4 separate regions of the Homo sapiens genome follow, and regions 2, 3 and 4 are each linked to region 1. Evidence: promoter capture Hi-C in 16 types of primary human blood cells and fetal thymus (Javierre and others, 2016). All regions are on one chromosome and are shown on one strand. The core of a region is centred on a gene start or on the middle of the fragment in contact, and the rest is flanking DNA. Distances in the headings are between cores, read along the strand shown.

Region 1 (5,768 bases), core at 1,635-4,134:
TAGTTTGGGAGTTCATGACAAACCAGTCACAGTTGGCAAGTTTAAAACTAAACATCATTTGGCTTCTCTCTCTAGCAGGGATGAACACAAAGATCAACAGAATGCAAGAAAAAGCCAAGAGTGTTTTCAGGGGTGAGCCACAGCTCTGTGGAGCCTTCAGAGATCATGCAGCCTGACTGCTCACTTTCCAAATGAGGCGGGAGACTGGAGGGCTGAGCGTCTGGGCCAAGGTCACACCACAAGTCATTAGAACCAGGATCCAGACCCAGGCCTCCTGATTCAGAGCCTAGGGCTCTTCCTCTATGGCTTGGGGAACCATGGCTGAGTGCTGCTTGACTGTGGCACAAAAAACGGCTGTTAGAAAGGAGTCGCACCCATGCGATAGTGCTCCTGAGAGGTGAGGACTGGAGGGACAGTTGTAATTAGGTCATTGCCATGCTCCACATTAGGCAGTGGGCCTGGCTGTGAGGAGTCATGGAGACAACAATCAAGGTGAGCCTGGTCTCTGAATCAGCATCTGTCAGAAGGGGTTTTGAATAACTAAATCTGCTCACCAGAGGCCATGGGGGTGGATGAGAATGGCCCACAAAGGCTGTCCAAGCAGCCTCCACAGCCCCGGCACCCTCACCTGCTGCTGCCTGTGTGAGTCCTCTCCCCACCCCTTCTACAGTCCGGCTGAGCCCCTCCACAGTCCTGGTAACCAAGTAGGGATCATCCCTCTGGGGCTGGGCTTCTGCTGTGGTCTTGCAGGTCCCCACCCTCTCCAGGAGGAAGAACTGCCCTGAATCTGGTCCTGTGGCACTGGCTCTGCTGACAGAGTCAGCTGTCGGGTGGGAGCCCACTCTGGGTGGAGGCAGCAGCCTCTCAGGAGCCCGTCACTGTGGCAAAGTACAAACTCTTTGAAGCAAAGACTCTGTGGATCCAAACCCCAGCTTTCTAGCCGAGGAAATACTGGATCTCTAGACTGCAGTTTGTCTACCTATAAATGGGATATACCCTTGTTTTGAGCATTACACGAGATGATCCACATAAAGCACTTAGCATGGAGCCTGCTCAGGGTAAGCACTCAATAAATGGTAGCTGTTGTCATTACTTAAAGGCCCGCTCTCTTTCCTGGCTCCCCCACCCATCGGTGTTTCTTCCTCTTGGATTTCCCATCATCACCTCTCTACTGGTTGTGTCCCCCAGGGTTCTATGCTTTTTCTTTTTTCTATTTTCTTTTTTTTTTTTTTTTGAGGCAGAGTCTTGCTCTGCCACCCAGGAGGGAATACAGTGGTGCGAGCATGGCTCACTGCAGCCTCGACTCCCTGGGCTCAAGTGATCCTCCTACCTTAGCCTCCTGAGTAGCTGGGACCACAGGCTGCATGCAACTACACCGGGCTAATTTTTTTTTTTCTGTAGAGATAGGGTCTGGCTGTGTTCCCTAGGCTGGTCTCGAACTCTTGATCTCAAGTGATCCTCCCTCCCCAGCCTCCCAAAGTGTTTGGGATTACAGGCGTGAGCCACCACACCTGGCCAGATTTTGTGCTTGACCCCTCCAATCCCCACTACACTAAGTACTTGTTGCCACACATCTGGGTTGCTCTACAGATAGCACATGCAGCAGCCCTCCAGGTGGGCTTCCTCCTCCCTGGACTGCCTCCTCCGTTCTCTCCTCCAAGCCTCCTAGAGTGCTGGCTCCATCTAGGCTGTTGTAAATAATCAGCCTAGCAGTCAGTGCCTACTAGGATGAGCTCCTGACCAAGCACCTGGGCTGAGACCCAGCTGAGACAATCACACCCCACAAAAAAGTACAAGCTCGAAAAAATTCCATGCCACTGCTTAAGGCAGAATGCAGTCAGGGGAAGACAGCACCTCTCTCCAAAACCCTTTAGTAAACTATTTTCCAGCAATAAAACCCACTTTAAATTCAGGCAGAGAGAAGGACCTCAGTACTCATAATTGAGAGAGCACATTTAATCAAGGCAGTAGACAGCTATTTAATTCCACTTTCTTTTGCCTAAATGTCCTTGTCCCCTCTTTTCCATTCACTTGCTCTAAATCAATAGTTCTCAAACCCTCCGTGCTGAGAGATCAATTGTTTATTTTTCTTGTTCCCAAACTACTGTGGGCCAGTACTTTTGTAAAATGGTAAAAATAAATTTCTAAAAAAGAAAAATGCCATTCCGATGGCACAGAAAGTTTTAATTTCTATAAAGTTTATTACTTTCAGTTTCTGTACATATCTTTTGGTAGTCTGGTAAGCAAGCTTCTCGCCGACCTACACCAGCCCCTGGCCCAAACTGAGAGTAGGTAGAACAGCTTCTGGAAGGAACAGAGCCACAGAGGAGTCTGTCTCCCACAGACACTCCCCATCCCAGGTTTTTGTCCTGTCATGTAGTCCGCTCAGCAGCAGCCCTGCTCCACCCAGAGCATGCAGTGGTGAGGTTTGGGGTGGGATTTGCCCAGGCTTTGGTTACTGATATTCCTTGAGAGTCTAGCAGCCCCCAGGAGGAGGGATATGCAGAGATGTTCCCAGCCCCAGTGCAGTGCAGGGACTGGCCCTTACCATTCCATGCCAGCCCTGTTGATCTCCTCCCACCAGCACTCCGTGGGTTCCCCGAGGCTCTGTGGCGTGGGCATGCAGGCGTAGTTCCATTGTCTGTCAGAACCTTCCTTCTTGCTGAAGATGCTCCTCACGGCCACTATCACCTGCCCCTGGGGACACTGGTAGCTGAAGCCTTGCCGGTTCAAATTCACCCACCCATCATCGCTGTAGTCATGATACTGCTGGTATGGGTATCCATAATCGCCATACTGGCCCCAGGCCATGGTGACTAGGGGCAGAAGTACCCAGAGAAGACTGAGGTCCATGCTGCCTGGGATTTTGGCAAACAATGTCACTCTAAGATTGCTGGTCTGACCGTTTTATATAGCTGCCGCTGACATGTGGCTTCCAGATGTGGGTGAGAAGGATCCAACTGCAGTGTGTCATTGCTTAAGCAAAACTTTTCCATGCTGAGATGTCAGCCATAAGGACATTCAGCTTGTTTTAAGGTGGAATTCTAGGAATATACCAGCAGCATGTAAGTCTAAGAAGCTCCCTGGAGAAAGAACAACTTTGTATCTAGATTATAAAAGCCAACTGCTGCTCTACCCTGTAGAAATATTCACTTGAAAAACACTGATTAGTAGCATATTTGTCCCTCACCTTTCAGCACCTCACCCCTTTCTGTCCTACCCTACCCGCTACTAGCAAACCCCTGTATTTGTTCTCCAAACTAGCCTTCCGGGCCACACAAATACCCAGACAGTGATTTCAAAATACCGAAATCATAGACTGAAGTAACAGAGCCATCTAGGATTTCTGTAAGGCTGAATGCCTGTTTTTTTTTTTAAGTTGTCAATCCAACACTTTTTAACCCTTGAGTATAAGCGCGGGTATACCAGTTTGCAGGGCTACTCTGAGAACTCATAAGTTGCATAAGGAAGTACTATGGGCCCATGGGGAGATAAGTTGGATATGATTTCTACACTTAAGCATTCTACCATGCTGCTGAAATTGGACCCAGTCAAGTCTAGAAAGTGTGCTCTGCTCTCAAAATGTAATGGGTTTAATCTAAATAAACCCCCTATTTATCCTTCAGTATTTTTGCCCTCACATTGAATTTTCTTTTCATTGAGTTATAATTTACATATAATTAATTCACCTTTTAAAATACATAATGTACAGTAACATAGCCAGCACCCTAATCAAGACTTAGAACAGTTCCATCAATCCAAAACATCCCCTTATATCCCTTTGCAGTCAAATCTTCCCAAACACCCAGCCATTGGTAACCACTGATTTACTTTCTGTCTCTATGGTTTTGCCTTTTCCAGAATGTCAAGTAAATGGAATCATACCACACGTAGCCTTTCATGTCCATCTTTCACTTAGCATAATGCTTTTAAGGTTCATCCATTTTAAAATTCAACATCTCATTGTATGTGTTAGTATTTTGTTTCTTGTTATTGTTGAGTAATATTCCATAGCATGGATGTACCACAGATTGTTTATACATTTACTAGTTGAAAGACATTTGGGTTGTTTCCAGTTTTTGAAAATTCATTACTTTTTATGTAATGAATTTTATATTCATTATATTTTATATAATGAATTACATAAATGTAATTATAAAGTTGATATAAACATCTATGTATAGGTTTTTGTGTGAACAAATTTTTATTTCATTTGGGTCAATACCTAGGAGTGAGATTGCTGGTTCACAAGGTAATGTATGTTTAACTTTAAAAGAAACTACTGAGGCCGGGTGTGGTGGCTCATGCTTGTAATCCCAGCACTTTAGGAGGCCGAGGCGGGCGGATCACGAGGTCAGGAGATCGAGACCATCCTGGCTAACATGGTGAAACCCCGCCTCTACTAAAAATACAAAAAATTAGCCAGGCTTAGTGGCGGGCGCCTGTAGTCCCAGCTACTCGGGAGGCTGAGACAGGAGAATGGCGTGAACCCGAGAAGCGGAGCTTGCAGTGAGCCGAGATTGTGCCACTGCACTCCAGCCTGGGCTACAGAGCGAGACTCCGTCTCAAAAAAACAAAAAAAAGAAAGCAAGAAACTACCTAGCTGATTTCCAAAGTGGTGATACCATTGCCCACCACTACCAGAAAATTGCCATTAAAAAATTTTAGCTATTCAAATAGGTTTGTAGTGATATTTCAGTGTGGTTGTGATTTTCATTTCTCTAATGATCCATGATTTTGAGCATCTTTTCATGTGCTCATTACCCATTCCATGCATCCGTTGATGATTTGGCTTTTCAAATTTTTTGAAACCTTTGGGCATCTCTTAAGCACATAGTATTTCCCATTTCTCATCAGTATTGTTCTTAAAGTTTCTTAGAATTGTGATCATAGACCAATTCTATCTACAGCCTCTGTGAAGTTTGTTAAAATGTAGACAGTGGCTCTTCTCCAGGCCTGCTAAATCATAACCTCACAAGGGGTGCTCAGGTATTTATATTTTAAAAAATTTTCCAGGTGATTCTTATTCACATCAATTGCTAAGAGTCACCTTCCTAAAGGAATGTGGAGCCAGAGAAAAATCACACTATTAATCCCACCATCTGCCTAGCCTGTGGCACATTTACCAGACGGTATTCAGTCTAGATCAAACACCAAGATAGTCTTGAAAGGGAAAGACAGTCATACATGAGAATAAAGCAACAAGTAACTCGTGTGTGTGTGTGTGTGTGTGTGTGTTTGTGTGTGTGTTGGGCATGCAGTTTTCTTTGATGATCATGGTTACTGAAGCGAGGGGGAGAGGATCTGGGCTGAACAGCTATGTGAGGCTTAGTTTTGTTTTTAGCACCATCTTCTCCCACCACTTCCATCCGTAAGTAACTGCCCAGTGCTGGCATCGGAATTCTTCCTAGCTTAGAAGGATCTCTCTGATTCATGATATGCTGAAGCAATCATTCTCCACCTTATCAGCATTTAAGGATTACCTGGAAAGCTTTTGGAAACCTCCAGAGTCTAAGCAATTTCTGGACCAATCAGATCAGAAGCTTCTGAGCAGGGTCCTGACAATGACGTCCTTTGAAACCTTCCCTATAGGCTTCTCACCGGAAGCCAGGGTTGAGAACCTCTATGCTAGAGGGTTTTTTTTTTTTTTTAATTTTTTCAGTTTATCATCCTGATGCTCATGAGTTGTATCTTGCATTCTGGACATGATATGAGCTATTTTAAACCTTAAAGAGCTCTAAGAGACAAAGCAGATTATCATAAACACT
Region 2 (5,768 bases), core at 1,241-3,740, 630 kb after region 1:
AGATTTCTAGCTCTACATCAGTTTGTTTGTACTTCAACAAGCTACATCTTGAAAATAAGTACACAAGAGAGGACTGGAAAATCTGTCTACAAATAATAGTTAAAAAAAGGCCAACTTAATATTCTTCACTACAGTCAGACAATAAACCTTGAATTTTAACAATTTATAATAGATGTAAAACAATAATTACAAAGAAATATTGTAGGTAAGTATTAACAGTGCCTTTCATCTATAGAACATACAGTAATTTATATTTCTCTCAATATTCTGAGCAAAGCAGGTGACAGTTTTATTAAAAGTTCAAATCTATTGTTAGACATATGTATGTAATGTATAGAAATACCAGTTTAGAGTTTAGAAGAAACAGGCACCATGGTATACTGCTAGCAGAGTATTCACTGGCAAAACTATTTTGGGAGTAGTCTGGCAATGTATATTGAAAGCCTAAAAATGCACATGACCTCTCGCACCTAGTTATTTCCTTTTTAATTTATTGTAAGGAAATAATTATGGATGTCTATAAAAATGTGTTCGCAAAAATATGTTAGTATTGTGTTAACAGAACAAATTAATAAATGGATTGGTTAAATCAGAGTAAATGAAAGAATAAAACGTAGAGCTGTCCCTCAGTATTTGCAGGGGATTGGTTCCAGGACTCCTACAGATACCAGAATCCTTAGACGCTCAAGTCCCTTACATACAATGATATAGCATTTGCATATAACCTATGCATATCCTCCAGTATATTTTAATTCATCTCTAAATTACTTACAACACGTAATACAATGCAAATGCTATGTAAATACTTGTTATAGTGCTTTGTTTTTATTTGTATTTTTTATCATTGTATTGTTATTTTTTTTTTTCAAATATTTTCAATCCTCAATTGGTTGAATCTGGATGCAGAACCCATGGCTACCCAGGGCTGGCTGTAGTTCTTAAAACTGATCTGGAAAAATGCAAAAGATATATTAAGTGGGATAAAACAGATTTCTAAACAATGAATATAATAGAATCATATTTTAAAGGATATGTATCTCTGTGTGTGTGTGTATATATGTATGAGTATATATGTGACCAGGATATTACACAAAAATATTAATAGCGATTGTATACAGGCAGTGTTATTATAGATAAATGTAATTTTATTACTTTTACTTTTATATTTTCTCATTTCTAAAAATGACTAAGTAATTTTCCTATATTTCTACAACAGAATAAGTTAAATATCTTTATAAACATATATAAAACATATATAGCATATATATGTATCATGTAAATATTGAAACTATGGAAAACAAAGGATAAAAGTTGAATTTACATCTATCAGAGAGCTCTAGAGCCATTATGTGTGCATATGAAGATACATTTTAAAGAGTATAGAAATATGAAGAAGGCACAGCACATAAGATGAGTCAGGAGAGAGAACAACAGCAACTTATTAAGGCAAAGTGTCCAGTATCAGAAAATAAATGTGAATTAAGCAGTACATTTTAATAGCTACAGTTTCTCACATCTAATTAACAGAAAGTTTTAAATATTGACAACTTTGGAAGTGAAGAAGTTTAGGCAGTTTTTGAAAAAAATGTGAATACAAAGTTCATTGGGAATGCTGGAGATACTTCTGGAAAGTAAGATACTTCAATCATATGCTATAGCAGCATCAAGAAAGGTACTAGGTGAAGATCACAGCAGCAAACATAACTCCCATGTTGAAACTATAATGCATACCCATCTGGAATATGTAGCTCTGCTCGCCACACCTTAGAGTAGATATTATAGAAACAAAAAATAAGTCCAGAAATGGGAAAATAAATTATGAAATGGCAACTATAAGGGATGAAATTAGGAGTCTCTGAAGTTCAAAGACAAAAGAAGCTCAGAAAAATATTTCCCAAAGCTTATAAGATCATAAATTTTACAGATAAGATAAAAATAAGCACCAAGAGACCAAATTAATATGGCAAAAGTTTAAGGCAAATCCAAGGAAAATAAAATATTTTGATGGAATAGGTAAAATATATAAGATGTATAATACTACTGCATTTAGAATAAAATCCAAAATCCCTCCCAAGTTCCATAAGTCTCAGTATTCCTGGCTCCTTCCTGCCTCTCAGATCTCTTCTCCTCCAGCTGTCCTCTCATTCCCTAGGCCCCAGCCACACTATCTCCCTCCTGTTCCTCTAATGCACCTCTGTGCTCACTATTGACTCTGCCTGGAATGCTCTTCTCCTAGGTTTCACCTGGCAAGCTGCTTTCTATCATTGACATCTCAGCTTAAAAGTCACATCCTCATGAGGACCGTCCCTGATTGTCCTACTCAAGGCTACTTGCTCTTGGAACCAACCAATATTGCATTACTTAGTTTAATTTTCCTCATAGTACTTATCATCATATGAGGTCATCATTCGTTTATTTATTCATGTAAACTGTTTTTCTCTCAAACTAAGGAAAAAAACAATTAAAGAGTTTTATCATCAAAGAGACTTTCCCTCACCACCCCAGGCTAGTTCAGATCACTCTATTTTATTACTAACTTCCACCTCACCTTGTCATTTTTCTTTTGTAATCCAACTTATACTTGTAATTTATTTTCCAATATCTGTTTTTCTCCATAAATTCCATGAGTTAGGGGCCACTGTGTGCTATCTTATTAATCAATGTATACCCACCAGTTACCAGTATATGGAAAGTACTCAATAAATACTTTCTCGAATAGAAGAATAACTGGTGAATGAGAAAGAATTGGGAATAAAAAGGCAGAAAAAGGAAAGCAAAAATAAATAAAAAGCTACATGAAAAAAATTATGGCATTATATTAACCACTTACTATTCCGTTCTCCAAATACCACTGTTTCCTACTAAACAAGAATATAACAGGCTCTAAACTGCATTTGTAATACAATATATAGGAAAATAAACTTTTAAGAGTTTCATATCTGCAATTTATGCCCTGTGCTTTCTGATTCACTTTTTGTAAATAAAATCCTGTGGATCTTTGGAACTGCAATTCTTCCAAATCAGCAATTCAAGTAACAAAAGGAATTCTGGATGACTAAAAAGCAGATGCTGTCTGGGTGCCAAGCTTCATGCCTATAATCCCAGCAGTTTGGAAGGCCGAGGCAGGCGGATGACCTGAGATCAGGAGTTTGAGACTAGCCTGGCCAAAATGGCGAAACCCCGTCTCTACTAAAAATACAAAAGTTAGCCAGGCGTGGTGGCATGCGCCAGTAGTCCCAGCTACTCGGGAGGCTGGGGCACAAGAATTGCTTGAACCCAGGAGGCAGAGGTTGCAGTGAGTGGAAATCGCGCCACTGCACTCCACAGCCGGGTCGACAGAACAAAACTCTGTCTAAAAAAAAAAAAAGGCAGGTGCTAAAAACAAAACCAGAAAAGCTATTAGGAGAAACGTCATAAAGTTGGAAACTGAAAAGCATTTCATTTCATGGAATAAAATTTTGTTCTTCAGTAATTATGAAACTGTCTTTGAAAACTCTGTTAAAAACAACTTTGACTCATGCCTGTAATCCCAGCACTTGGGGAAGCCGAGGCAAGTGGATCACTTGAGGTCAGGAGCTCGAGACCAGCCTGGCCAACATGGTGAAACCCTGTCTCCACTAAAAACACAAAAATTAGCCAGGCATGGTGGCACATGCCTGTAATCCAAGTTACTCACAAGGTGGAGGCAGGAGAATCGCTTGAACCCAGGAGGCAGAGGTTGCAGTGACCCGAGATCACACCACTGCACTCCAGCCAGGGTGATAGAGTGAGACTGTGTCTCAAAAATAAATAAATACATAAACAAACAAACAACTTTGAGACATTTTACTTCAAAGGTTTAGATTAGTTCTTATGGAACATAGCTAATAATCTTTAAAGTCCTTTATTACACTAACAGTTCATCTGGAGTAATGATATTCTAATAAATGCTATATTTTAGAAGATACATAATATTAATATCTTTGTCAAATATATCTTAGAATTACCTTCTCTGTCCTCTTTATAATATGTAAAAGAAATTGATGAGTCCAGCATACGCTTCATCTTAAATGAGGTGTATGAGAAACATGCTAAACTATGGTTCCCTATCTCTGCTTCACAATATAAAGGTGATTCCAGAATTTGGAAGCCTCAACTATAACAAACTAGATGAAGACAGAAGCTGATTAGATAAACTGCAGTGGTCAGGAAGCCTCACCAACAGAGCAAACAACCTCCATCTTCAGCTGCTTATTGAGAGGCCATAATCCTTTGCTGCAATACATACAACAGTGGCTAGACTGAACACAGAGAAGGGACATCTGTTTCTTAGGCCTGTTCTTTCTCATAAATGATTGATGGCAAATATGGAGGAGAGTGATCTGGATGCACAAAGAAACTTGAAAATTTTACTCTAGCCAATTTTAGGCTTTCGTTAATTCAAAGCTGTATCTGCCATACAACAAGAACATTTTCACTAGATCAAAAGAGGAATAAGAATATCTGCAGGCCTTGAGATTTCAACTATTTTGCCTTTTAAACTATATATTAGCTGAACGTGGTGGCTAACATAAACATAATCCCAACACTTTGAGAGGCCAAGGTGGGAGGATCACTTGAGCCCAGGGGTCCAAGACCAGGCTGGGCAGCATAGTGAGACCCTGTCTCTGAAAAAAAAAAAAAATTAGCTGGGCATCATGGCACACACCTATTATCCTAGCTGCTCGGAAGGCTGAGGCTGGAGGATCACTTGAACTTGGGAGGTTGAGGCTGCAGTGAGCCATGATCTCACCACTACATTCCTGCTGGGTGACAGGGCAATATCCTGTCTCAAAAAAAATAAATAAATAAAAATAAAATAATAAGATAAAACAAATAAAGTATATATTATTCAAAGTACCCTGTGTCTTGAACTTTGTGGATCAGGACTCACAGTAAGAAATATATTTTACATCAGAATCCAGTACACATCCAATACATATACAATTAAACAAAAGTTCATGAACGTTACCCTTACAACATGTAGTGAATATGTTAAGTTGCTATTTTATGTCATCTTTTTAATGCTGGCTACATACCACAAATTTGAGTAATGAGTCATCAGGTACAGTTTGAGAAACACTGCTGTACGTATACGTGTGGTCTGGCCTCTGCCTACCTCCCTAACCACATTTCATGGTATTTTGCACCATATTTTCCCTACTGCAGCCACCCCTGCACCATCCCACCACCCAGTTTCTATTATTTTATTACATTGAACCATAAGTTCCTAAAATATACCAATCTCTTTTCTGCCTCAGGGTATTTGATCTTGTTGTTAGCGTGGCCTGGACTCCTCCAGATCACTGCACTTTGTATTATATTATGCAGGTCTCAATATAAAAGTTCTTTCCACAGAGAGGCCTTCATTGACCACCTAATTTGAAAGAGCCCCAGCCTGCAATCCCGGCAGGAGGAGTGGGAACAGGAGTTCATTCATTGCCCTTAGCATTCCTGGGAAGTTTGATAACATAATGTAAGACAGGCAAAAACCAAAAACAGTATTGAGCAAATGTCACTTTCTACCTCCCTATGCCATTGCACAGGTCATAGAATTCTAACTATTGAAATTCTATTCCATTTTCTTCATGACAACTTTTCTGACTCTGACTGAGAAGCAGGGACTCAATTGTACAATTTGCCCCCTATTACTTTGTATTCTCTCAGACCACTTAGCGCATTCTTTCTTATTTTGTATTCATTCCGCAAACATTTGAGTGCCTAATATGATCTAGGCAATACTGTGAACA
Region 3 (5,768 bases), core at 2,299-4,798, 590 kb after region 1:
TTAGCAAGGCCTCTGTTACTGAACTAAGGTATTCCTCTAAGGCATTAGGGTGCCCTTCTGCAGCCAAAACTCAACTGCTCACCACTGGTCCTAGGACAATATACAAAGCAACAGTAATTGGTATTGAGGGAAAGGTTTCCCAAAGGTGAGAGCAAGACTAAACTAATATTCATCTGGTCTGTTCCCCGAGAAGTAGCCATAGTCTACTAGAGCATGGCAGCCAATTGGCTTAAAGGTATAAAACCCAGAAAACAACTAGGAATGTGTACTCTTGCTCCTCATGAGTAAAGTAACTTCTATCCCTGTTCCCATAAGAAAGTGCTCTCTCTCTCTACTTCTTCCATTTGCTTCTCCATGTCCGGCCATATTTAAGGGTTTCTGGTTATTTGTGGCCCGACCTCTTTTTTCTCAGACCTGCAGACCCTCAAGTAGGGGATAGTGTACAAGTAAGGGATAGCGTATTGTTCTCCTGCTTTCACATGTTAAGCACATTGGAATCAGAGTCCGGCACCTGCAGTGGAAGCCTGTTTCTCTCTAGTGCTCTCTCTCCTGTGCTCCATGGGCTGGGAGGCAGGATGAGAACCCTGGGCAAGTATGCCCTTAGTTTGTTCTGTAGATCCAACTTTTCCTCAGGCAGGCCTCAAGTTCCAGATCAGTGTAAGGGATAGAGGAAATAGGAATAGAAAGAAAGCCTCAACCATTCTCAAACACGCTTTCACAAGACAGCCTAAGTAAAATTAATACTTAATATTTTGATCTACATCTATCTCCTGTGTTAGTTCTTCATCAGTTAGTAATTTGGAGGGAAGAATGGAGACTAACTGAGCTCAAGAGATGACAAGAAGCTGTTTTAAGGAGGAATGTAAAAGATAAAAAAGAGAAGAGAAATAAGAGAGATCTATGAAGGAGACAAGTAAATTGGTAAGATTAGGTCCCCATGTGGATTTAGGGATAAAATACATATGGAACTCAAGGACAGCCACCAATTTTGTAAGTATGTAATTAGGTGAATATTGTGTTAGTGCATACAGAAGTAGGTTTTTCAATGAAAGAGAATTAATTTAATTTTGAATTTGTCAATTAATTCAATTTTGGATTTTTAAGTTCCTGTGAAAAATCTACATGGAAACGTTCAGGAAAAAGCTTAAACATATGGTTTTACAGCTGGGGTGATGACATAAATTTGGAAAGCAACACATTGTTGAAGTCATGGAGTACATAGAATCCCCTGGGAGAGTATATAGAATGAGAAAAAAAGGGCCATGAACAGAACCCTGGGGAATACCAGGAGTCTTTTTTGCCTCTGAGAAGGAATGACTCTGAGAAAAAATAGCCAGAGAGATAGAGATGGAAGCAGCGGTGGGGGTAGCGGTGGTGAAGTGCCATAACAACCAGGGGAAGACAGAATAATAATTTTTAAAGTATTCTAAACTTAATTTATTCCAGTTGGGATGGAAGAACAGAAGAGGTACATTTTTTGTATTTATTAAAATTAAATTTAATTTAATTTTAATTTTAATTTTAATTTTAATTTAATTTTTAAATTTAATTTTAATTAAAATTAAAATGTCTTTTAAGTCATTCATACATTATGATATCCCAATACTGTAATCCTGCTAAACTATATAATACCTGAACACTGAAGTTGTTTCAAACTTGATATAGCCAAGATTTTATGACATTTCCTTCCAATGAAATTTCTTCAAACATATATCTGATGATACTGCCAAATCTTCACATAGAAAAAACGTATAGTTCATATGAGTCAAATTCTAATATTAGAAAATGTATGTTCATCCATAAGAATTGTTAAACTACATAAGTCTAGAAAACATATAAAGTATTATTTCAGTACCTTTTAAAAAATTATCAATTAAGCAAATGCTTGGAATTTTTGGGCTGTATTTAAAAATTCAAAAGGTGATTTAGTTCAAAAGGTTATTTAGGTCAATCTCCCTACCTCCAGGGAGAAGTATTCTTAAGCCCCTTCCAAGCACAGGTCTCATCTAAAATACGGCTTGTTTTTTTATCCATATACCATTTCAGTACATCTCCAAGAGGACAGGAAAATGCATACTGTGACTGAGTTCCTGCTGTGATGGAGCCTCAAATAACTTGGGCTTAGACCTTGGGATCAAAGATTATACACACAGTTGACTTCATAATTTTTCTTCTGAAAAACAGGGGGGTCTTCCTTTCACTGAAAGTTAATAGATGGGCACAAGAATTTCATGTATTTAACATCTACTATAATGTTGTTCACCCAACCTACTGATGCCTTTCTCCCTTTAATTTGATTAGATGGCTTGCTTTCTGGCTGAGACTCAAAAGGAATGAGGATTGCTCAATGTAAATATGTGGCTCAGTACTTAAAATTAATGGATTTTTAAATAGGATACTAGCATTATTTTTCATTGATTTTTATAAACTTCTTACTAAAGATATAAGCTATCAAAGTAAACATTTAATACCTCACTTATCACATGGGGAATAGCTGTCTATTCATATAAAATTCCTCTATCATTCATACACATGCATACATATACATATTGACTCATCATATGAAAACTTTAATTATTTCTGGTTTGAGGTAATAAATTTTTAGAAAGACACAAATTGTATCGTGTCTCCAAATCTAAACAACAATCATAAAGCACCAATTAATTACTAGCTAAAATTAAAATCAAAGACTGACTCATTGACAACTTGTAACCTTTATCCATTTGATTAGAGGATCTTTATAAAGAGAGGATAAAAATGTGAATCAAATGTCAGATTTCTACAGTCAAAGGGAATTGGAAAGCTGAAGCTAGTTCATGAGTTAAGCTGAATTATATTAAATTATCTGGATAACTGCTCCCCAATTAGCTGATAGGCTCCATGGGGATCAATTTCACTCATCCTCCTCACTACAGGCTTTACTATAGAAAGAAAAGAGTTGAAAATGTAATTGGTTCAAAAATTTTTCTCAACACTATACAAAACTGAGAACTAGACTAAATCGGTTGTTACATAGAAGGTGTTTCTGTGGAACGCTGATAGACATACACACATATTTCCATATGCTTACTTTTTGCCATTTAAATAAAACAATAAATTTTTGAAACTCTTCGGTTTGGAAGAAGTTTATTTAAATCACCCAAATGGTTGTTGGATTTACTAACCCATATGCAATTAAGAAAGAATAAGAAGAGAAAATGGTGAATCAATTTGAGTCAGTAAAATATATACTACATATATTTTCATTTTCATTAACTATATAAAGCCCAAATACTTCAAATTTGTTTTTACATTAAAATAGAATTCTTCTGTTCATCCTGTTTTAAAATCAGTCCCATTCAACAGTATTTGCCAGCATATTAATTAGAGGTTTAGTAGAAAGAGAATGAATTTTAGGGAAAAACAAAACACGGTTTTCTGGTTTCCCTTTACTTTCTAGCTGTGTTACTGTGGACAAGTTACTTACCCATTCTATAAAATAGATTTAACAACATTCACTTCAGTCAAATCATAGTTAAAATACATAAATTATAATTTTTATGGTTGTTATTTTATTTTTCTTAGGTCAGACTGTTAACCCTGACTCCCTAACTCACTTATTTTGCTAGTTTAAATAAAAATTTAAAGCAGTCTTCCAGCCTGGGCAAGAAGGCCAAACTCCATCTCTAGCAAAATACCAAAAAATTAGCCAGGAATAGTGGTGCATGGCTGTAGTTCCAGCTACCTGGGAGGCTTAGATGGGAGGATCACTTGAGCATGGGAAGTCAAGGGTGCAGTGGGCTATGATCATGCCACTTCACTTCAGCCTGGGTGACAGAGCCAGACCCCACCTCAAAAATAACAATAATTAAATAAAATAAAGTAGTCTTGAACTGAGGTGTATGTAAAGTGCATATCATAGTGTCTGGCACATAGTATGTGCTCCATAAATGAATGCTACACATATTTATGAGTTTTAAATAAAGGAATTATGGTTGGCATTTCTTTAATCCCAAAGACTTTTACATAAGATCTCATAACATTAAAAGATTCCTATTTATTTATCTAATACCTGAAATTTCTGTCCTATTTCAAAGAGAGTCTTTGGTCTTCCTTTTTAATGAGGCATGCACCACCCCTCTGATCCATCACCATTTGTGTACTAACACCCACACTAAGAATCCAATCACCTCAAGAGCTATAAAGTGCTTATACAGAAAGACTATGGAAGTCACAGAAAGAGATATCATATTACTATAAGAGTGACTCAGACGTTAGGCAATCAGCTAGTCATTTGAGTAGTAGATCTCAAAAAATAGTTTGATTGATTTGTTTTCCCTATTGAATTAAATCATTTTTGGAGCCTTTTATACATATAGCCTTAACTTCTACAAATAATCCCTATTTTAATTACAGCACCAATCACTCTACAGGAAAAAAAAACTCCCCAAACCATACAAAGTATAAGCTACAGAAATTAAAGCCAAGAAAGATGACAAAGGAATTAAAATTTCACTTCAAATATAATTAATTCTAGTCTCAGAAAGTTGAAATTCATAAATGTAGAGACTGAAAATTAAAATGTCATCTTGCTAATACTGAAAATCAGTATTCAGAAGGAAAACATCAAAAATCCTTGTTTTCTTGTTTTCTATAAGTCTAATTTTCAGCTGTATCTACAAGTTGTTCTTTCTCTTCCATTTTTTTTCTTAGCCCCTTTTACAGATGACTGTATCTCTTCTAAATCAAAACTGAGAAAAAGAATGATGAATGCAGCTTTGACAAACAATAGAGAGAAGAACAGGGACACATGTGGAGGCACCATGTCACAGTTTCTCTCACAGAAAGAGCCACATGCAGTGGGAGGAAGATAGGGAGGCGGGGATGCCAGCCAGTGGGAAACTCTTCCTTTAGACATACCGTACCTCCAGACATTTCGATGACATAAATTTATTCATTCATATATTTAACAAACTTTTGTGGGTCACACTCTGTGAATAATTTACTGTTTGAGGTATCACTACAACAGTTTTTAGGGATACAGTTATGAATAAGATACATCAGTCTCCCTGTATCATAATTTCTTTATATGGTTTCTTTTTTTTTTCCTTTTTACAACACTCACATTGTCATTTTTCAATTGATCCGTTGGTCAACATCTATTAGATATAAATATATATATATATATCTGTTAACAAAACTTGACAATAGGCAGCATTAGTTACAAACAATCTAGGCAAAAACCTCCTGGTCAACTAGATCAAAGATCATCATTTGAAAACAGGGAGAAAGTGGAAAAAGGAAAGAATAGATCATAGATTTTAAATTGTGATTCATTAATTCGTTCAGCTAATACAGACAAGGTGCTTGCAATGTGGATGGAGATGTGCTAAGTGCCACAGGAGACATAAACATGAATTAAGTCAGATGAGACATGCACAACTATGGTATTATCAATTTTTTTTTAAATTGAAAAAAAGAAAAAGAATGAAGACAACCATTTTCCAGGTCCTATCCATCCTCATATGGTTACATACTCCCAGTCTTGATTCAGATTGACTTTGAACCCAAAGTTAGAGCATGTAAAAAGATTATATAATTGTTTTCTTACTTTTCTTTCCTACTGCCCAGCTGGCGAGCTGTATATTGATCCCCATAGTCAATTAATACCAGTTGTCGAGAAAAGACATTCACTTTGTTGCCTATAAATAAATCTTCCAAGTGCAGGTTATCATATTTGGTCCGCTTTAAAAAGGTGCGATGATTCTTTACATCATGCTAGAACCAGA
Region 4 (5,768 bases), core at 2,257-4,756, 560 kb after region 1:
GGGAATTCAGTATTTTTTTACTTCATTTTTAATGGTTTTTTATTTCCAATTTTCTACTATATACATGGATTACTTGGATACTTAGGAGACATAAAATTTTAAAATCCAATCACTTCTGTATATTATTTAGTATATTCTAGTTTTTTAAGGGTGATCTTTTTAACCATACCCCATCTTACTTCCAAAAAGATTTGAGATACCTAACAAAAATATATATACCAGACTAAAATAAATAAAATAAAGAAATTGAGACAAAAATAAGAAAAGAACTTGCAAACTCTTTCTCTTTATATATGTATATATATGCAAACATGTATATACATACATATGTCAAAGAACTGTTTCAGATACAAAGAACTGAAGGAAATTTCTCCAGCCTTCTCAGAAAGGGTATACTAGAGGTATGGCAGACATTGTTTTAATTTGTACAACAGGAGTGCTATTGGCTGGGCACAGTGGCTCATGCCTATAATCCCAGCACTTTGGGAGGCCGAGGTGGGTAGATCATCTGAGGTCAGGAGTTTGAGACCAGCCTGACCAATATGGTGAAACCCTGTCTCTACTAAAAATACAAAAATTAGCTGGGCATGGTGGCATGTGCCTGTAGTCCCAGCTACTCGGGAGGCTGAGGTTGCAGTAACTCGAGATCATGCCACTGCACTCCAGCTTGGACAACAGAACTAGACTCTGTCTCAAAAAAAAAAAAAAAAAGTGCTATTGAAGTAAATTAAGTGAATCACAATTTGTGATTAGAAAGAGAGAAGGCAGACTAAAAGTCAATTAGCCAAGATCTGTAACAGTATGACTGAGCCTGAGCATGATCAGCAACTCAAAGAACACCTCCTAAAAATCCACAAAGAAAAGACAAATAGAGATTTAGACAGATTTTCCCTTATATTTTGTCACCTTTACTCAAGTGCCTTCAAAGAAAAAAAATGGAAATACTAAAAGTATACTTTATTTTCTATACATAAAGTACATCAAGAAAATAAACATTGCTCTCCTATTAACAAAATGTACTGAATATAGTGTATTCAACATACCTTCACTGACAGCATGGGGTTTAACAATGCAACAGGTACAATTAGTAAATTTAGCAGTGTTTGCCGGCCCACAACCTCCACTTGAAGGAAAAAACAACTCCATTTCCTAAAGACAGAGAGAAATGATTTTGACAAATGTGATCTCTTATCTTGAACTTACAAGATATTTCTGTGGGGGAGGAGAATCATGCAATTACTTTTAGAGTTTCATCATATAAATTTTTTGTTTCAGATTTTCTAAAAATGAGTTTTACAAAGACACACTGATTAAATTAACCCTGTTTCAAGACTTAGAACCAGAAGAGCATATAAAGAAGTATCAATCAAAGCAATGAGAATATGTGTCATTTTGTTCCAGGAATATAGTGGACAAAGATTTAATAAATTTTGAATATTGGAAATACCAATATAAAGTTCTTATTCTCCCCAAAGCATTAGTTAATTAGACACAAATTTAATTTTAAATTTTTCATTAAAATATGTAAAATAAAATTTAAAACTAGGAAATTTTATAGGAACAGAGATTAATATCAGGAATCTGAGAACTACAGCTACTTAAAACTAACTATAGGCCTAGTATAAAATAAAATCAAATGAACCATGTTTTATAAACAGATTCAGGCTGTGTTATTCACTTTGCATGTGGTTCACTAAAATGACAACACAACAATTTGAACTAGCCACAAAGATGTTCACACTAATCAGTTCTTTTAATTATTTAGATGCTTTCCTGTCTCTAAGCTTTCACTGCTATTATTTCTACTATTTCCTATAAAACCCTCTGACTCAAGCTCCAAAGAATCTTACCAATGTGTAAAGAGCCACCTCAAATACCACTTTCCACTAGGAGGCATTTCCTGATGCCTCCTTCCGGCAACCTTTGTTCCCCCAAAGTTATGGTTATTTGGGTACTTATCTTCCATCAAATCATAAATTTGAAAAAGAGGGAACTAAGTTGTATAGCTCTGTAGGACCCCTAGCACCTAAAACAATGTCTGGCTCAATGCAAATAGCCCTTGGTATACACAAGGGATTGGTACTCAAATCCCTGTGTGTACTCAAATCCATGCATGCTCAAGTCCTGCAGTCAGCCCTGTGGAACCTGCTTATAGGAAAAGTCAAATCTCTGTAGATGTGAGTTTCACCTCTTGCAAATACTGCATTTTCAATCCTTCTGTTGAAAAAAATCCACATATAAGTAGACTCGTGCAGTTCAAACCTGTGTTGTTTATGGATCAACTGTATTTATTTTTCATTAAATTTAAAATGAAAAGATTATAGAATGTGTTAATGTGCCACACTGATGAGCATTTTTTTAAACACAAGGATGATGAGGAATTATTCAAATAGTAGTGTATACACCTGAGCATTTCCAGTGGTAAGACACTAGAATAAAAAGTGTTCTATTCCTAAGATACCAACTGCCTTTCTATCATATTGCTGCCATTATTTATTATTCTTTTTAATCAATAACAACAGCAACTACCCCTTTTAGTCCTATACCAGATGCTTTGATTGCATGGTCCGAGAGAACCTTTATGGTACAGATGAAAATTCAAATACCTACAGGGACCTGGCAGATGATCAATGAAGGAATGAAGTAGAAGTGGTGTGACAAGAGAATATGATAGAGTAGCAAACTAGAAAGGGCATGCTCTTTCGAGAGTTCCCATTGGTCTGTTCCCTTCACAACAAAATTCAAAAGAAATGTCTTTCTTTTCCATTTCCATTTTTACTTCCTCTCCTACAGTCTCTTTTAAATCCACAACCAATTAGGTTTTCATTCCACCAAAGCTGCTCATTAAAATCCCTTACTACCTCCATGTTGCTAAGTCCACTGGTTAATTATTCTCAGCCCTCACCTTACCTGACCAACAGTATTTGACACAGTTTGTCACATCCTACACTCTGGAATGCTTTCATTACTTGCCTTTCTTCCTACCTCACTGGCTACTCCCTCTCAGTCTCCTTCGATGGTTTTCTCCTATCTAGCTGACCTCTATGTGTTGGAGAGCACCAGGGCTTAGTCCATCTTTATTACTTGTTCACTAGCAGTTTCTCAATGAATATTTGGGAATGACTGAAATTCAGCACCTAATAAATTCTGCATGTGCTAAACAAAATAAATATATCCACAGTGTACAAATGAGAAAAATGAGACTCAGAAAGCTTAAGTAACAAGCCCTTACAAGTTAGCAAGTGGCAAAGCCAGGATTCAAATCCAAGTGACTGTAGCTCCAAAAACCATGTACTTTTTCTATTATCTGTCTTTCCAAAGTAAAAAGCAGTGATAAATTGTTCTGTCTCTAGTTTAACAAATTATTTAACAATTAATTGACCAATTATTTTTGTCTCAACTTTCCTTTGATTTCTTTTCTCGCTCAATTTTTAAAAATAAAAATGCCAGCTTTCCAACTACCCAGATTTTCAAGTACCATATTTACCTATGCTGAATAAATATTTATTTATAAAGCATAAAGATTTTACATAAATATATCTTCTTAGTGAAACGTGAATAAGAGCGCTTTTACTAGGTCATTGTTATGGCAATTAATTCAAAGTCTTTATAAAACAAAGTCACAAAAATAATATCCAGGCTTCTTTGGGATTTGAGGGGCTAAAATATTTTGTATAAAGATCCTGTTCTTCCAAAGATTCCTGCTATTACTCTTGGCCTTTTACATTTTCCTAAATTCCCTAGTAGGAAAGAATAAATATTTATAGCTTTACAAAAAATTAAAAATTCAGACTGAATTCGAAAGCTTTAGGTATATAATTTTTAAATTTTTAAACAAATTATAAAGTATATAGTTGTACTACTTCATAAATTTTCACGCTGATAGGATTTCCTGGTAATTTCACTAAAGCATTTGTAATTAATCTATACTAATAATTTTATTATGATAATAAAAGTATGGCTAAATGGTGGCCAGTTAAAAGTTTCTCCAAAACTTTGTACTTGTAATAGTAATTTAAAATGAATATCATTTCTGTAAATGTCCCAAATTAAAACAGTATAGATCAATGGAACAGAACAGAGGCCTCACAAGTAAAGGCACACATCTCCAACCATCTGATCTTTGACAAACCTGACAAAAACAAGCAATGGTGAAAGGATTCCCTATTTAATAAATGGTATTGGGAAAACTGGCTAGCCATATGCAGAAAACAGAAACTGGACCCCTTCCTTTCATCTTATACAAAAATTAACTCAAGATGGATAAAGACATAAATGTAAGACCTAAAACCATAAAAACTCTAGAAGAAAACCTCAGCAATATCATTCAGGATATAGGCATAGGCAAAGACTTCATGACTAAAAGACCAAAAGCAATGGCAACAAAAGCCAAAATTGACAAATGCGATCTAATTAAACTAAAAAGCTTCTGCATAGCAAAAGAGAAATTATCATCAGAGTGAACAGGCAACCTATAGAATGGGAGAAAATTTTTGCAATCTGTTCATCTGACAAAGGGCTACTGTCCAGAATCTACAAGGAACTTAAACACATTTACAAGAAAAAAACAAACAGCCCCATCAAAAAGTGGGCAAAGTATATGAACAGACACTTCTCAAATGAAGACATTTATGCAGCCAACATATGAAAAAAAGCTCATCACTGGTCATTAGAGAAATGCAAATCAAAACCACAATGAGATACCATCTCATGCCAGTTAGAATGATGATCATTAAAAAATCAGGAAACAACAGATGCTGGAGAGGATGTGGAGAAATAGAAACGCTTTTACACTGTTGGTGAGAGTGTAAATTAGTTCAACCTTTGTGGAAGACAGTGTGGTAATTCCTCAAGGATCTAGAACCAGAAATAGCATTTGACCCAGCAATCCCATTTCTGGATATACACCCAAAGGATTATAAACCATTCTGTTGTAAAGACACATGCACACGTATGTTTATTGCAGCACTATTCACAATAGCAAAGACTTGGAACCAACCCAAATGCCCATCAGTGATAGACTGGATAAAGAAAATGGGGCACATATACAGCATAGAATACTATGCAACCATAAAAATGGATGAGTTCATGTCCTTTGCATGGACATGGATGAAGCTGGAAACCATCATTCTCAGCAAACTAACACAGGAAGAGAAAACCAAACACTGTATGTTCTCACTCATATGTGGGAGTTGAACAATGAGAACACAAGGAGGGGAACATCACACACCGTGGCATGTTGCGGGGTGGGGGGCTAGGGGAAGGATAGCATTGGGAGAAATACCTAATGTAGATGATGGGGTGATGGGTGCAGCAAACCACCATGGCACGTGTATACCTACATAATAAACCTGCACGTTACGCACATGTATCCCAGAACTTAAAGTATAATAATAATAATAATAATAATAAAAAGAAATAGACACAGCCACTTCAACCTTTGGCAAAAACAACCCTGATCAATCAGCAGACATCAACATCAAAGTAAGATCAGCAAAAAGATTATGACTCGCTGAAGGCTCAGATGATTGTTAGCATGCATTTTTTAGCAATGAAGTATTTTTAATTGATATATTCATAGTTTTTTTTAGACACAATGCTATTGCATTTAGTAGCCTACAGTATAAACATAACTTTTATATACCAGGAAACTAAAAAATTCATGGGACTCCCTATATAGCCATATTCACTCCACTGTGGTGGTCTGAACCAAATCTACATTATCTCTGAGGTATGCTTGTAGATGAATAGAACACAACAAATCGCTG

Evidence for each region. The method cuts DNA at HindIII sites, captures the fragments that hold promoters and counts their contacts. A CHiCAGO score of 5 or more calls a contact.
Region 2: a contact is called between a fragment that was not itself captured here and the fragment with the promoter of DPT in region 1, in 1 of 17 cell types (M0 macrophages). The highest score is 7.5, in M0 macrophages.
Region 3: a contact is called between a fragment that was not itself captured here and the fragment with the promoter of DPT in region 1, in 3 of 17 cell types (M2 macrophages, activated CD4 T cells and naive CD4 T cells). The highest score is 6.7, in M2 macrophages.
Region 4: a contact is called between a fragment that was not itself captured here and the fragment with the promoter of DPT in region 1, in 1 of 17 cell types (M2 macrophages). The highest score is 6.3, in M2 macrophages.

What each region holds. Positions count from the first base shown.
Region 1 is chr1:168,726,322-168,732,089 of GRCh38, forward strand. DPT (dermatopontin) reads right to left here and starts at 2,885. Exons shown (of 4, transcript NM_001937.5): 1 at 2,549-2,885. The coding sequence starts at 2,853. The HindIII fragment of the contact is 3,243 bases long and covers 2,247-5,489 here.
Region 2 is chr1:169,358,427-169,364,194 of GRCh38, forward strand. All of the region lies in intron 1 of NME7 (NME/NM23 family member 7), which reads right to left. Among named protein-coding and RNA genes, the nearest start is that of NME7, 6.5 kb to the right of the region's middle. The HindIII fragment of the contact is 1,185 bases long and covers 1,899-3,083 here.
Region 3 is chr1:169,317,527-169,323,294 of GRCh38, forward strand. NME7 (NME/NM23 family member 7) reads right to left here. Exons shown (of 12, transcript NM_013330.5): 3 at 5,591-5,757. Among named protein-coding and RNA genes, the nearest start is that of NME7, 47 kb to the right of the region's middle. The HindIII fragment of the contact is 4,815 bases long and covers 1,142-5,768 here.
Region 4 is chr1:169,286,260-169,292,027 of GRCh38, forward strand. It overlaps NME7 (NME/NM23 family member 7), which reads right to left. Exons shown (of 12, transcript NM_013330.5): 7 at 1,044-1,149. Among named protein-coding and RNA genes, the nearest start is that of NME7, 79 kb to the right of the region's middle. The HindIII fragment of the contact is 593 bases long and covers 3,211-3,803 here.